Linked DNA regions of Homo sapiens: region 2 is linked to region 1. The links are contacts of gene promoters, found by promoter capture Hi-C in human tissues and cell types (Jung and others, 2019). All regions are on one chromosome and are shown on one strand. Each heading gives the region's core, a stretch centred on a gene start or on the middle of the fragment in contact. The rest is flanking DNA. Distances are from core to core; before and after follow the strand shown.

What was found. The method cuts DNA at HindIII sites, captures the fragments that hold promoters and counts their contacts. A contact is called where the count stands out against the background at its distance.
Region 2: a contact is called between the fragment with the promoter of IFIT1 here and a fragment that was not itself captured in region 1, in 1 of the 25 tissues and cell types used here (hippocampus).

What each region holds. Positions count from the first base shown.
Region 1 is chr10:89,341,542-89,348,349 of GRCh38, reverse strand. It overlaps a transcript of LIPA not described here. Among named protein-coding and RNA genes, the nearest start is that of IFIT3, 17 kb to the right of the region's middle. The HindIII fragment of the contact is 4,561 bases long and covers 1,763-6,323 here.
Region 2 is chr10:89,390,980-89,397,210 of GRCh38, reverse strand. IFIT1 (interferon induced protein with tetratricopeptide repeats 1) reads right to left here and starts at 4,588. Exons shown (of 2, transcript NM_001548.5): 1 at 4,494-4,588. The coding sequence starts at 4,498. It also overlaps a transcript of LIPA not described here. RefSeq lists enhancers at 3,859-3,908, 4,710-4,759, 4,990-5,039 and a silencer at 5,592-5,753. The HindIII fragment of the contact is 7,368 bases long and covers 1,006-6,231 here.

The DNA of each region.
Region 1 (6,808 bases), core at 2,794-5,293:
ATTGCTGAATAGGACTCTCTGACTTTGTCGCAATGGAAAAAAATAGAAACTCAGCCCCCAGGGAGGCATAAAGGAGAGGAAGTCATTAACAATCTTTTTGTTTTTCAGAACTGTTCCTGGAAGATTTCCCTTCTGTCTGACGGAAATCTTCCCACGCTGTCTTTCCAAACTCCTACTTAATGCTTTGAATTCAGATTGCTGAGCCTCTGAGCACAACAGACAGCACTGGGGTTGGAGGTGGGGATCCACTCTGGAACTTTCCATCCAGAAAACCTCAGATGTCTTCCTCACTCCTGTGTTTGGAACTGATAGCTTGAAGGCAGTTCCTCTGAAAGCAAGGACTTCAGTGTATTTTTTGGACTGGGATGGAAACCTTACGGTGGTAGGCCTCACCATGGAAGGCCACATGGTGGGGGTTGTAAACCTGTACTGCCTAAGGCATGTCCCGCTTGGGCTGCCATGCATGTCCTCTGGGATTGTGCTTTGTGTCTGTGTGTACCTGACTGTCATGACACTGTCTCAGCCCAGGAAGGTGATCAGGTCCACTTTACTTTCCTGGCCTCAGCTGTGATGTGCCACCAGGTTAAAAGTTTAATATAGACATGTACGGAGGAAGCTCTCTGGACTTCTAAGATAGACCTTTATAATTAATCAGATTTGTTTAAGCTGGCTAAATTCAGGATCCTTAAAAGAGGATAAATACTGAATGTATTGGAAAAAACTGAGATCAATACTGACAGAGATCCTAGAAATAATAATTTTACTATAAAGTTGCCTTGCTAAGGACTAAGGGGATGGACCATGCAGAGTTAGCATGGCAAGTTTGAAACTGTTATCTTTAGAAAGACTTGCTTGCAAGGTTGGCCCTTGGCTAACATCAGGGAACTTGGATTTTTAAGTTTTCTAGCTATTCTATAAATGATATGGGTGGCTTACTATGCTAAGACTGTTTATGCAAATGATGGAGTTTATGCTAACACTTGCTTTCCTTCTCGAAGTCTGGAATTTTGGTACATGCTAGGCAGAGGGTGCATACATGATCAGTCCCCAGTAAAACCCTTGGGCACACAGTCTAACTGGCTTCACATGTGTTGTCACAATTTGATGCTGGAGGAATTAAGCACAACCTGATGACTCTACCGGCCCTCTTGGAAACCTATACCTGATTTTCTTTGGACTTGGCCCCATGCACTTTTTGTCTGTGCTAATTTTGCTCTGTATACTTTTGTTATAATAAGGCTTAGCTGTGAGTATGACCATATGTTGAATCCTGCTCATCTTTCCAGTGAATCATCAAATCTAGGGGTAGTCTTGGAGACCCTGATGTCAATTTCCTAGAATTCTCTTTAGAAAAAAACAATGCAGCAGGCTATTAGAATATAACAGCTCCCTCTGGGAGACCAAAGGAGAGAAAAGACAGGCTAAGCCTGACTGAGTGTGGCTCTTTCTCCAACCTACGCAATTTCCTATGAGGATTTCCCTTTGTAAGATTTTCTTTCCACACAATAGCTGTCCCCAGATTCCTCAGCCATCATGCGCATGGCTGGGGATGTTGCATCATTCTTGGGCATACCTAGGACACCTGTCCATCCCCTGGTGGATCTTGGTTCAGGATTTTGTTGCTGGTATGTTCCACATAAATCAGAAGAAAAGAAGGTGCAGGGTCATCAAAAACTCTTCTGTTTATTGCGTCAGACTGGAGTCAATGTCTTTCCCTTTATAATCAAGAGGGAGCTCAGGAGGGTTGTGAAATGATATTTGGCAGGAAATCAAGGGAAGTGAATATTCTAACAGGAACCACCCTGACCTTTATGCTTTATGAGATATTCATATAAAGGGACCATGGCAAAGAGAAAATCATTTTATTCATCAAACTCTAGTTGAGCAGAGCTTGTGTTGCAGGGTGAATTATGACACTGTGAACAAAGGTCATTTTGGGGAAGATCCCAGGTTGGATGTTGAACTAGAAAAAGAATATTAGTGGGACAACTGGTAAAATTTGAACAAGACTTGTAGATTAGTTGATTATATGTTGTCACTGTTAGTTTCCTGTCTTAAAGATTATTCTATGTTTATGTAAGGTGTTAACATGATGGGAAGCTGCGTAAAGGGTATATGGGAATTCTGGGCACCATTTTTACAACTTTAAGTCTAAAATCATTTCAAATAAAAAGGGTTAAAAAGTCAAATTATAGGCTGACAATTATTTTCTCTTGGCATTTTGAAACTATTTCCCACTGTGTTTTGGTTGCTATTGAGAAGTCTGAGCTTAACCTAATACCAATTCCTTCACAGATATTTCTTCTGTTTTTTGTCGTTTTAAAAATCTTTCTGCCTCAAAGGCACTTAAAAGATACTACTATGTTTTTAGGTGACATCTGCTTGGGTGATCTTTTGTGAAATTCATGTATTTGAGGATTAGCATTTTTCATTAATTCCGAAAATTTCGGTCATTGTCTCTTCAACTATTGCCTTTCCTCCATTCCCTTTTATTTGTTCTTCTGCAACTCTGATCACATGCATTTTAACTTCCTCACTTTGTTCTCCATGTCCCTGAATATCTCTGTTGATTTTCCATCTCACTGTTTTTCTGTGCTGCATTCTGAGTAGTTTCTTCGAATCTGTCTTCTAAATCAATAAATGCTTTTCAGCTGTGTATAAATTACTTTTCAACAAATCCTTTGAGTTTCTAATTTCTATTATTTTAGTTTTTATATTTCTAAGTTTTGTTTGGTTCTTGTGCAAATATGCCTAATCAAATTTAATACACTATTGTTCCTTTATTTATTTATTTATTTATTTATTTATTTATTTATTTTTTGAGATGGAGTCTCGACCTGTCACCCAGGCTAGAGTGTAGTGGCATGATCTCAGCTCACTGCAACCTCTGTCTCTTGGGTTCAAGAGATTCTCCTGCCTCAGCCTCCTGAGTAGCTGAGATTACAGGCACCCATCACCACACCTGGCTAATTTTTGTATTTTTAGTGGAGATGGGTTTTCACCATGTTGGCCAGGCTGGTCTTGAACTCCTGACCTCAGGCAATCTGCTCACCTCAGCCTCCCAAAGTGCTGGGATTACAGGCATGAGGCACTGCGCCCGGCCTATTCCTTTGTTAAAACTTAATTTTTTCTTTCTTTATCTTGAAATTTACTAAATACACTAATACATTCTTTTTTTTTTTATTGAGACAGAGTTACTCTGTTGCCCAGGCTGGAGTGCAGTGGTGCGATCTCGGCTCACTGCAACCTCTACCTGCCAGGTTTAAGCCATTCTCCTGCCTTAGACTCCCAAGTGGCTGGGATTACAGATGCCCGCCACTATGCCTTGCTAATTTTTGTATTTTTAGTAGAAACCGGGTTCTACCATGTTGGCCAGGCTGGTCTCTAACTCCTGTCCTCAGTGATACACCTGCCTCGGCCTCCCAAAGTGTACTAAATACATTCTTTTTTATTCTCTATTCAATTACAATATCTGCAGTTTTGTTGCTCTGGCTTATCGTTTATTATCTGGCAACTTTTGCACATTGTGGCTTATTTATTTGTGTGTATTCTTTGATTTTGTATTATGACCTGATATTCCTTGGAACTTTATCAAACTTGGAAATTCTTTGAGAACTATGTAAAAAGTGTTTCCCTTTGAGGGGTGTTTTTATTTGCTTTTGTTAGGTGCATGGGAGCACTACCAAGCCAGAATTGCTTAAAATGAAATTTTCTACTTGAGGTTTTTTTTTTTTTTTCTTGCCGCATGGATAGTGAGAATTTCAGCCCAAAACAATCATGCTTCTCCACTTAAGATTAGAAATTATCAATGACTTTTTTTCCTCCCTGCTTTACTTAGGGCCAAAGCCAAAAACAGGCATGTGTAGCCCCATCATTTACGTCTGCAAGGAGTTTGTTCTCCAGTTTAACCTCTGAATGGGTCCTGGTTTTATGTGAGTTCTATGATACAATGTACCACGTGCAGGCCCCAGACTTTGTCTTCCATCTCCTTCATAATGTAATGTAGTCCATGAGAAAGTGATGTAGATCACCAACACAAATGAACACATGCTTATTCTGGTGGATTTTCACTTTCCTGTCATTTCTGGACTTCAGGGAATTCCTTACTCTCTTATAAATGCAGCTGTGCATTTAAAAAATATGTTTTGCAGATTATATAGCATTTTTCATTGTGATACACAGGCTTTTTGTTCTGTGTATATCTGGTCTACCATAATGCTTGTAAGGAAACACATTTAATCTTCTGTGAGGTATAATTTATTATTCCCAGGTTTTATGTAGGAATATCTTAGGGTCACAGAGGTTAGGTGATTTTTCCCAACACTGTAGAGATACTAAGTGGTGGAGGTGAGGTTGAAATAGGTCTAAACCCAAAGCCAAGGCACTTTTAAAAGATTAATAAAGTTTGTCGAATGATACTTGGACTAACTCCTGCCTGAATTAAGCTAGAAATTAATATAAGTTCTTTAATTCAGTTAGGAAGATCCCAAATCAGAAACAAATCATAATAAAAATTGAGATCAGGAAGCTTCCTGAGTGTAGCTCCTCATATCACTGTCCCACACATAAGTACTGCCCCATATGGCAATCGGGAGGCCCCAGGAATGCTTGCTAGGGTCAGGCCCTGCTCCTCTAAGTTAGTTGAAAGCTCCCTCCCTACTCAGTGACTGCTCTCATACTTCTTCACTGTAGCTGTTGGCTCTCAGAACATGATGCCCAAAGTATAGCGCCTCGGTGTGCTGAGTACTTTGAACTGAAAGACATTGGAAGGGCCTCCGAAGAAAGATCTCTTTGACCTTCTCCTGCCCTCTTGTCTTTCATGCTTCTTTCTCCCCTGGAGTGAACCATGGAAACTAGAATTCCTCTTCCGCAAGACAATGATAGAAACTAGAAGCCCTTTCCCCAAAGCAAGCCATAAAACTTAGGAAGGTCACTCTCTCCCTTCTCCCTTCTCATTTGAAGACCCTTAATCCAGAGGAATCCTGCCCCATACTTGCAAAGAAGAAATGCTACACAGAGAGTCCAAGAAGAATTTGAACCCAGTCTATTACCATTAGATCATACTCTTGTCCAAACACATCTCTACAGAGCTGCCCATTCTTCATGGAACCTAAGCACAAAAACAGTTTTCCCTGGATCTTTGGGTCTTCATTTCTGAAGGCTCTCATATCACATAAAACTTTGATTAAGTAAATTTGTTATGCTTTTCTCTTGTTAACTTGTCTTTTGTTATAGGAGTGTCAGCCATGACTCTTACAATGAGTAAGGAGAGGTATTACCTACCTCCTTTTACCCCTACATGCTCTTGGAGCTGATTATCACAGTTTGTAATTTTTCCACCTTCCATTCCTGCTTCTGTGTATTTTGATAAATTTTTGCAGGTCAGTAGACTTCCCATGGCAGAATATTTCCTGCTTCTCACCAGCCCTTAAGCCAATCCAAGGAAAACAAAAGAACATCATAATGCTTTGTCATATGACAAGATTACAAAAGCAGCATCCAGTGGCAGAATGCCCAACTGCTCCGGGACACAGCCAATAGCTGACTTCAGTGCTCCCCATCCCTGCTTGTCAGTGATTAGTCTAAATTGTTATCACAAGCCCAGTCTGACCAATGAATGTGAGTGAGGGGCCATTTTGATTGTCAGCTCCTGATTCTGCAGAAAACACGAAACTGAGCTGTACAAAGATGCTGATGAGGGGCTGCAGCATGCAATTCACTTCACCAGCAGTCACTAAGGTCTGATCTCTTTTCTAACCATACCTGGAAGATGGAATGCTGGACCCAGGGTATGCATAGAAAATGGGAGTTATTAGAAAAGCAGCTTTGCTTGCTTTAACCCAGGAATTGTATTTCTGGTATGTTGTTTCCTTTTAGACAATTGCCCTAAAGGTTCTTTTGTTTAAGGAGCAGGAGGATGGGGGAGGTTATTTCTGCTCTCAGCAAAAGTCTTAGAACCAGGGTCTCCTCGTTTGTAAGGAAGCAAGTAGGTCCCTGGACCTGGGCTGGGATATGATTTGTGATCAGCCAGGCAAGAGTTAAGAGTGGAAGTCTGTGCTCTCTGCCCATCTTATAATATCTTAAGGGTGATCATCTGTGGTATTCTTGAGTGGTATGTCCCATTCCATCTAGCATTTCATTAGAATTATTGTATAAAGGATGACAGGCAGAGGACACTTGACATGGGAATGCTGGACCTATTGGATGTTTATTCATTAGCTGCAGTTACCCCCCATTAGCCTTTTTTAATACAAAGTAAAAATTTAGTTGACATGTAAAAATTGTATATATTTATGGTGTATAGCATGTTTTAATATATGTATACATTGTGGAACGGCTAAATCAAATTATTTAACATATGCATTACCTCAGCTACTTACCTTTCTTTTTGTAGTGAGAACACAAAATCTACTCTCTCAGCAATTTTCACGTATGCAACATATCATTATTAACTATAGTCACCATGATGTACTATGTTAGCCTCTTAATACGGTATAATGCCTTGGCAAAACCCAAAATCCCTAGCAGGTCTGGATCTTTGAGTTTGGAAATGGTCCAAGGTGCATATACTATGTCTGTGAATACCAGAGGGCAACTCTTTATGGGTTCCTGGTGTAGGGTCTATATTCTAAATTCTGAGAGATGAACTCCTTTAGGGCCACAGTCTTTCTGCCACTTATGAACCTACAAGCAAGTTTCCAGGTGTTAAATCAGCTAGGGAATCATTTCAGAATTTATTTCAAATATTACATTAATTCCTAGGGGATAAGGAATTTAAAAGGAAAGTGTTCAAATGATCATCTTATAC
Region 2 (6,231 bases), core at 3,339-5,838, 48 kb before region 1:
TGTATATATTAGCAACAAACTGGAAATATTAATAGGGAACGGTTAAATAAAGGTATATCTATACCATAGAATATTATGTAGCCACTAGACTACATGAATTAGATCAAAACTACTTGAGTTTGATGGACTTTCATATATATCAAGAAAAGTGAATTGTAAAGAAGTGTCCAAAACACGACCCTATTTTATAAAGAACCAAATCCTTATATATTTGTATGTATGTGATTACTCATGTATGGAGAAATATATGTAAGTATATTTACAGCTCATCAACAAAAAGATAAGCAACCCAATTTAAAAATGGGCAAAGGACTTGAGTAGACAATTCTCCAAAGAAGAATCACAAAGGACTAGCAAACACATGAAAAGATGCTCAACATCATTAGCTACTAGAAAAATGCTAACCAAAACCATGAGCTATCACTTCTCACCCAGTAAGTTGGCTACAATAATAATTTTAGAAAAGGAGAATAGGTGAACAAGTATTGACAAGTGCTATGGTTTGGATACAGTTTGATTGTCCCCACCAAATCTACGGAAATTTGATCTCTAGTGTCACAATTTTGGAGGTAGGGTCTAGTGGGATGTGTTTGGATCATAGAGGTAGGTCTCTCGTGAATGACCTGGTGCCATTCTAGTAGTAGTGAGTGAATTCTCATTCTTGTGAGACTGGATTGGTTCTTGGGGGAATGGATTAATCCTTTGAGAATGGGTTGTTATAATGTGAGGATGCCCCCTGGGTTTAGACCCTCTTTGTATGTGCTTCCCCTTTGACCTTCTCCAGTGTGTTTTGACACAGCACCAAAGCCCTCACCAGAAGCTGAGAAGATGCCAGCACCATACTTCTTGTATGGGCTGCGGAACTGTGAGCTAAATAAACCTTTTTTCTTTAGAAATTGCCCAGCCTTAGAAATTGTTGCTTATTCTTCTATAGCAACACAAAAAGGACTAAGGCAATAAGGATGTGGAGAAATTGAAACCCTCATACATTGCTGGTGGGAATGTAAAATGATGCAGCTGCTGTGGAAAACAATGTGGTGGTTCCTCAATAAGTTAAACATAATATTACCATATGACACATTCCTGGGTATACATTCCTGGATGTTCCACATCTGGATATATACTTAAGATACTTAAAAACAGGTGTTCAAATAAAAACTTGCACACAGATGTTGATAGCAGCACTATTCATAATGGCCAAAAAATGGAAACAACCCAAATGTTCACCAACTGATAGATAAAAAAATGTAATATATCCATAAAGTGGAATATTATGTAGCCATAAAAAGGAATGAAGTACTGATACATGACACAACATGGATAAACCTTGACAACACTACACTAAATGAAAAAAACTGATCCAAAAGGTCACTGTTGTATTTTTTTTTTTCCTAATTTTGTCTTGAGGTCTCTCCTGTGAGAGTGGCTACAATCTACAGCCCTGCCTTGAAAGAGCTTCAGGGTATTTGGTCATGGATATTTACAATGTGCCTTTCTTGGGATACTTCTTTATTTTGATGAACAGCCTAATGCCTAAGCGTCTGATCTATGTCTAGGTGTCCCCTTTTATAGGAAACTTGTTTATATCAGGCAGATGCCCTTGTGGTTCTTGCCTGACCTGTGTTTAGTTTATTTCTACTGAGACAGCCACTCTCTCGGAAAGCCATGACCAGTAAAGAAGAGTTTGAGTGTGTTGGTCAGGTGAAATACAAAGGAGGCAATTGAAAAAAATAGTATGTGAAATAACAGAAGCAGCTTATTACTTACAGATCCAGAGAGAAGAGGGTAATATGCCTTGCAGGGCCAATGGGAAAGGGGGAGCCATTGAGGACATGCCTGCTCAACCAGCGAGTGGGGAATGTGGGCCCAAGCCTTTATGGGAGGCCAGGGCGTTACCTAGGTGGGTTTCCTGTGGAGAGTTCTATTTGGTGGGTTTAGAGCAAGCAGGTGCAATTTTGCCAAGGGGTCATGCTGTGACTGAGAGGTGGTCACTGCAGCACATCTGCCTGGTCCATGTGGGGTGGGGGTGGGGTCAGTGGGGGCAAGTCAAATAGGTCATACCCTGCTATGCTATAGGGAAGTGGTCACCAGGAGGTAGTTATATAAAGCAGATATCTGGATCAATCACATTGAGGAACTGGAAAAAGGTGGAGAACTAGAAATTGTCTCAAGGGTGACTGAGCCCTGCTTCTGGAATGAGAAAGTCCAACTTAATATTCAAAAAGGGATGCTTAGGAAATATAAAATTATAAAAATTCAATATAACCACATAGTATGTGTTTCCATTTATATGAAATACCCACAATAGGCAAATCCATAGAGACAGAAAGCAGATTAACAGTTGCTGGGGCCTGGGGAAAGAGGCAAGTAGGGAGTGACTGCTTAATGGCTATGCAGTTTCTCCACATAGCGAGAAAAATGTTCTTGAACTAGATAGTGATGATGATTGCACAGTAGTATCATGAATATACTAAATACTACTAAATTGTATACTTTAAAGTAATTAAAATGATAAATTTTATTTTACATGTATTTTATCACAATAAAAAATCACATTGCTAACCTGAATAAAATTCAAGTTTTATATATATATATATATATATATATATATATATATATATATATATATATATTTTCCTGTAGTACATATTGACATAAACATAAAAGCAGGAAAACATAAAAGCAAATGAGTTTGCCATCTGAAATAATCACATGAGCCCCCACTGACACCCTTTGGGAAACATTGATTTAAAGGTTTAATGAAATATCATTGAATGTAGAGATCCTGATCCATATCTCAAAGCTACCACTTATTGTCTGTGTGATCTTAACATTTCTAAATCTAAGATTCCTTATTGTAAAATCAGGATCATACAGCCATGCACTGCATAATGATATTTTAGTCCACAAAGGACCACATATTTGGTGGTGGTCCTATAAGATTTTAATGCCACAATTTTGCTGTACTCTATGTTTAAATATGTTTAGATAAACAAATACTTGCCATTGTATTGCAGTTGCCTACAGTATTCAGTACAGTAACATGCTGCACAGGTTTATAGCCTAGGTGTGTAGTAGGCTATACCGTCTAGGTTTGATGTTTGCATAATGATGAAATTGCCTAACAGCTGCATTTCTCAGAGTGTATCCCCATTGTTACACGATGCATGACTGTGTAAGTACCTGCCTTATAAGTATCTTTTGAGAATTAAATGGAATAATTTACATAACACTTTTAGAAGCCAGGCTGTCACTTAATACGAATTCAAGAAGTGATAACTACCTTTATAACATTTAATATTATTATTATTTTAATTATCAGTACCAACTCCATCTGTTTACAGAGGAGGGTTCATCATAGGCCTGTAATGTGCATTTTCTGGAATTTTTACCTCTTCAAAATTTTGCCAACTGGAGCACTGAGGGGAAAATTTACAAATCAGTATTAAGTAATGGATTTTTTGTTTGTTTGTTTGTTTTTGAGACGGAGTCTCGCTCTGTTGCCCAGGCTGGAGTGCAGTGGTACAATCTCAGCTCACTGCAACTTACGCCTCCCAGGTTCAAGTGATTCTCCTGCCTCAGCCTCCCAAGTAGCTGGGACTACAGGCATGTGCCACCATGCCCAAATTTTTGTATTTTTAGTAGAGATGGGGTTTCACCATGTTGGCCAGGATGGGCTCCAACTCCTGACCTCAGGCGATCTGCTCACCTTGGCCTCCCAAAGTGCTGGGATTACAAGCATGAGCCCCCTTGCCCGGCCTAAGTAATGGTTTTTAAATCAGCTGAGAAATTCCCACATTAGGCCCTTTAGGTAAGGAAGATACGGATCTTCCCAAGCAGATGTGGATCATCTTCAGTCAAGGACGTACCAAGAGCCTAGATTTTCCAGGGAGGAGGCAATCTGTTTATCTTAAGCTCAGCCTGATTGCGAAAACCTGTTGTAAGAGGCCAGCAGTGCAGAAAGTGAGACCAGAAGCCTATGGAGGAAGGCTGTGAGCTTTTCCTACCACATCTCCACTGTATTACCCACAAGACATCAGAGAGGCTGCAAGACTGAGGCTTTCACATTCTTGTGGGTCCTGCTTTTTCTCTGTGGTAAAGAACCTGCAGAAAGCAATGCCTCTACTCAGACAAGCTGTCCATTCCTTCCCCATATCAGACAGAAGTGAATCTGATGGGAAAGAATCTCTCAGATTGGGATCATTTTCTCCCTTCCTGCAAAACTCTTTTCCCATTTCCCTCCCCTTCTTTGGGCTATAGCATGAGGTAAGCTTCCTCAAGTTCATGCTAACAAACATAAAAATGCATTAAACAATTTATGTATGTGTGAACGTGCACACACATGCATGCACACATTCAGTCCATAAGCAGATACTCAAATCGAGGAATTAGAAAACCTGACCTCACTGAGATCTAACCTGTTGAAATAGTATTTAATTACCATTTTTTCAAAAACTTTAGACATTATGGCAGAGGAGCAAAGAAATCCTTACCTCATGGTTGCTGTAAATTAGGCAGCCGTTCTGCAGGGTTTTGCTTAGCCAGGCTCCTCTGAGATCTGGCTATTCTGTCTTGTGGATTTTCAGTTACGTTTAAACCCCAAGACAGTGTTATATAAGGGAGCTAAACAGCAGCCAATGGTGTAAGCTGTGGGTGTGTCCTTGCAAGTTGGAAACCTAGGGAAACCGAAAGGGGAAAGTGAAACTAAAGCTAGCGGAATTCCTGCTGACGGGGGGGGGTGGGGAATGAAACTTTGTTTCTATTTTAAAACAGATAAACTGCAGACCTGCAACCATAGATGTTTCTAGTGCTGCAGAAACCCAATGACTGGCCAGCATTTGGAACGAGATTCACGTCCTCCCTAAAGAACATCAGTCCATTGCTGCCTATTGTGGCAGTTGGTGGCTGGATTCTGGATGAATACACAGAAAAAGGAGAATTGAAGGAGATAGCTCTATTTTCAGTTTCTATATTTAGAAGGAACCTACTATCAAATATAAAAATCTACTCTTAATTAATTGAGTAACAAGGCTTTTGGTTGCTGGTTGCTTTTTGGTTGCTTACTTTTGGTTTCAGCTTGACGGAAATAAGCAACCAATCTGGTTTAGGAATGAAGGAAAGAGACCAATACCTAGAAAGCCTTCTAACCCCTGATGACTTAGGCAGGAGGTAAAAGCAAGGAGGTATGGTTTGAAATAGAGAGCCCTCTATTGCTCCATCATGGACACTGTCATTCTGAATCAAATTCCAGTACAACCTCCACTACAGTTCATGGAATTTGAGTTTAAATAGTTAGCAACTACCTGGCACATAGAAGCATGCAAATAAGTGGTAACTATTATTATTATTATTTTCAGTCATCAAGTTAAAAATAATGATTCTTGGCTGGGTGCGGTGGCTCATGCCTGTAGTCCCAGCACTTTGGGAGGCCAAGGTGGGCGGATGACAAGGTCAGGAGATGGAGACCATCGTGGCCAACATGGTGAAACCCCCTCTCTACTAAAATACAAAAAATTAGCTGGGTGTGGTGGTGTGCACCTGTAGTCCCACCTACTCGAGAGGCTGAGGCAGGGGAATTGCTTGAACCTGGGAGGCAGAGGTTGCAGTGAGCCGAGATCACACCACTGTACTCCAGTCTGGTGACAGAGCGAGACTCCGTCTAAAAAAATAAATAAATAAAAAATAAAAAATTGTTGTCCGGGTGCATTGGCTCAGGCCTGTAAGTCCCAGTATTTTGGAAGGCAAGGCGGGAGGATCACTTGAGCCCAGGAATTGTAGACCAGCCTGGACAACATAGGGAGACCCCAACTCTACAAAAAAACTGAAAAAAAAAGCTGGGTGTGGTGGTGTGTGTCTGTGGTCTCAGCTACTCAGGAGGCTGAGGTGGGAGGCTCACTTGAGCCCAGGAGGTAGAGGCTGCAGTGAGCCATGGTCACACCACTGCACTCCAGCCTGGGCAACAGAGTGAGCCCCTGTCTCAAATAATCATAACAATATATAAAAACAATGTTTCCTTTAAAAAAACCTACCTACTTTGTCTTTTAACATAAGAAGCAGAAGAGGAGCAGGTGCAAGAGTATTTTCCTTTTGGAAACACTTAACTGGGCACACTGCCAGATCTAAACAGTTTCTGCTCAACTCCCTGCCAGACTCATCTCCCATGTCAGCTCTCACCAATTCTGTAAGCTTCCACAGAGAGTTCAACAACTAGTTAGAAAGTTCTACACAAAT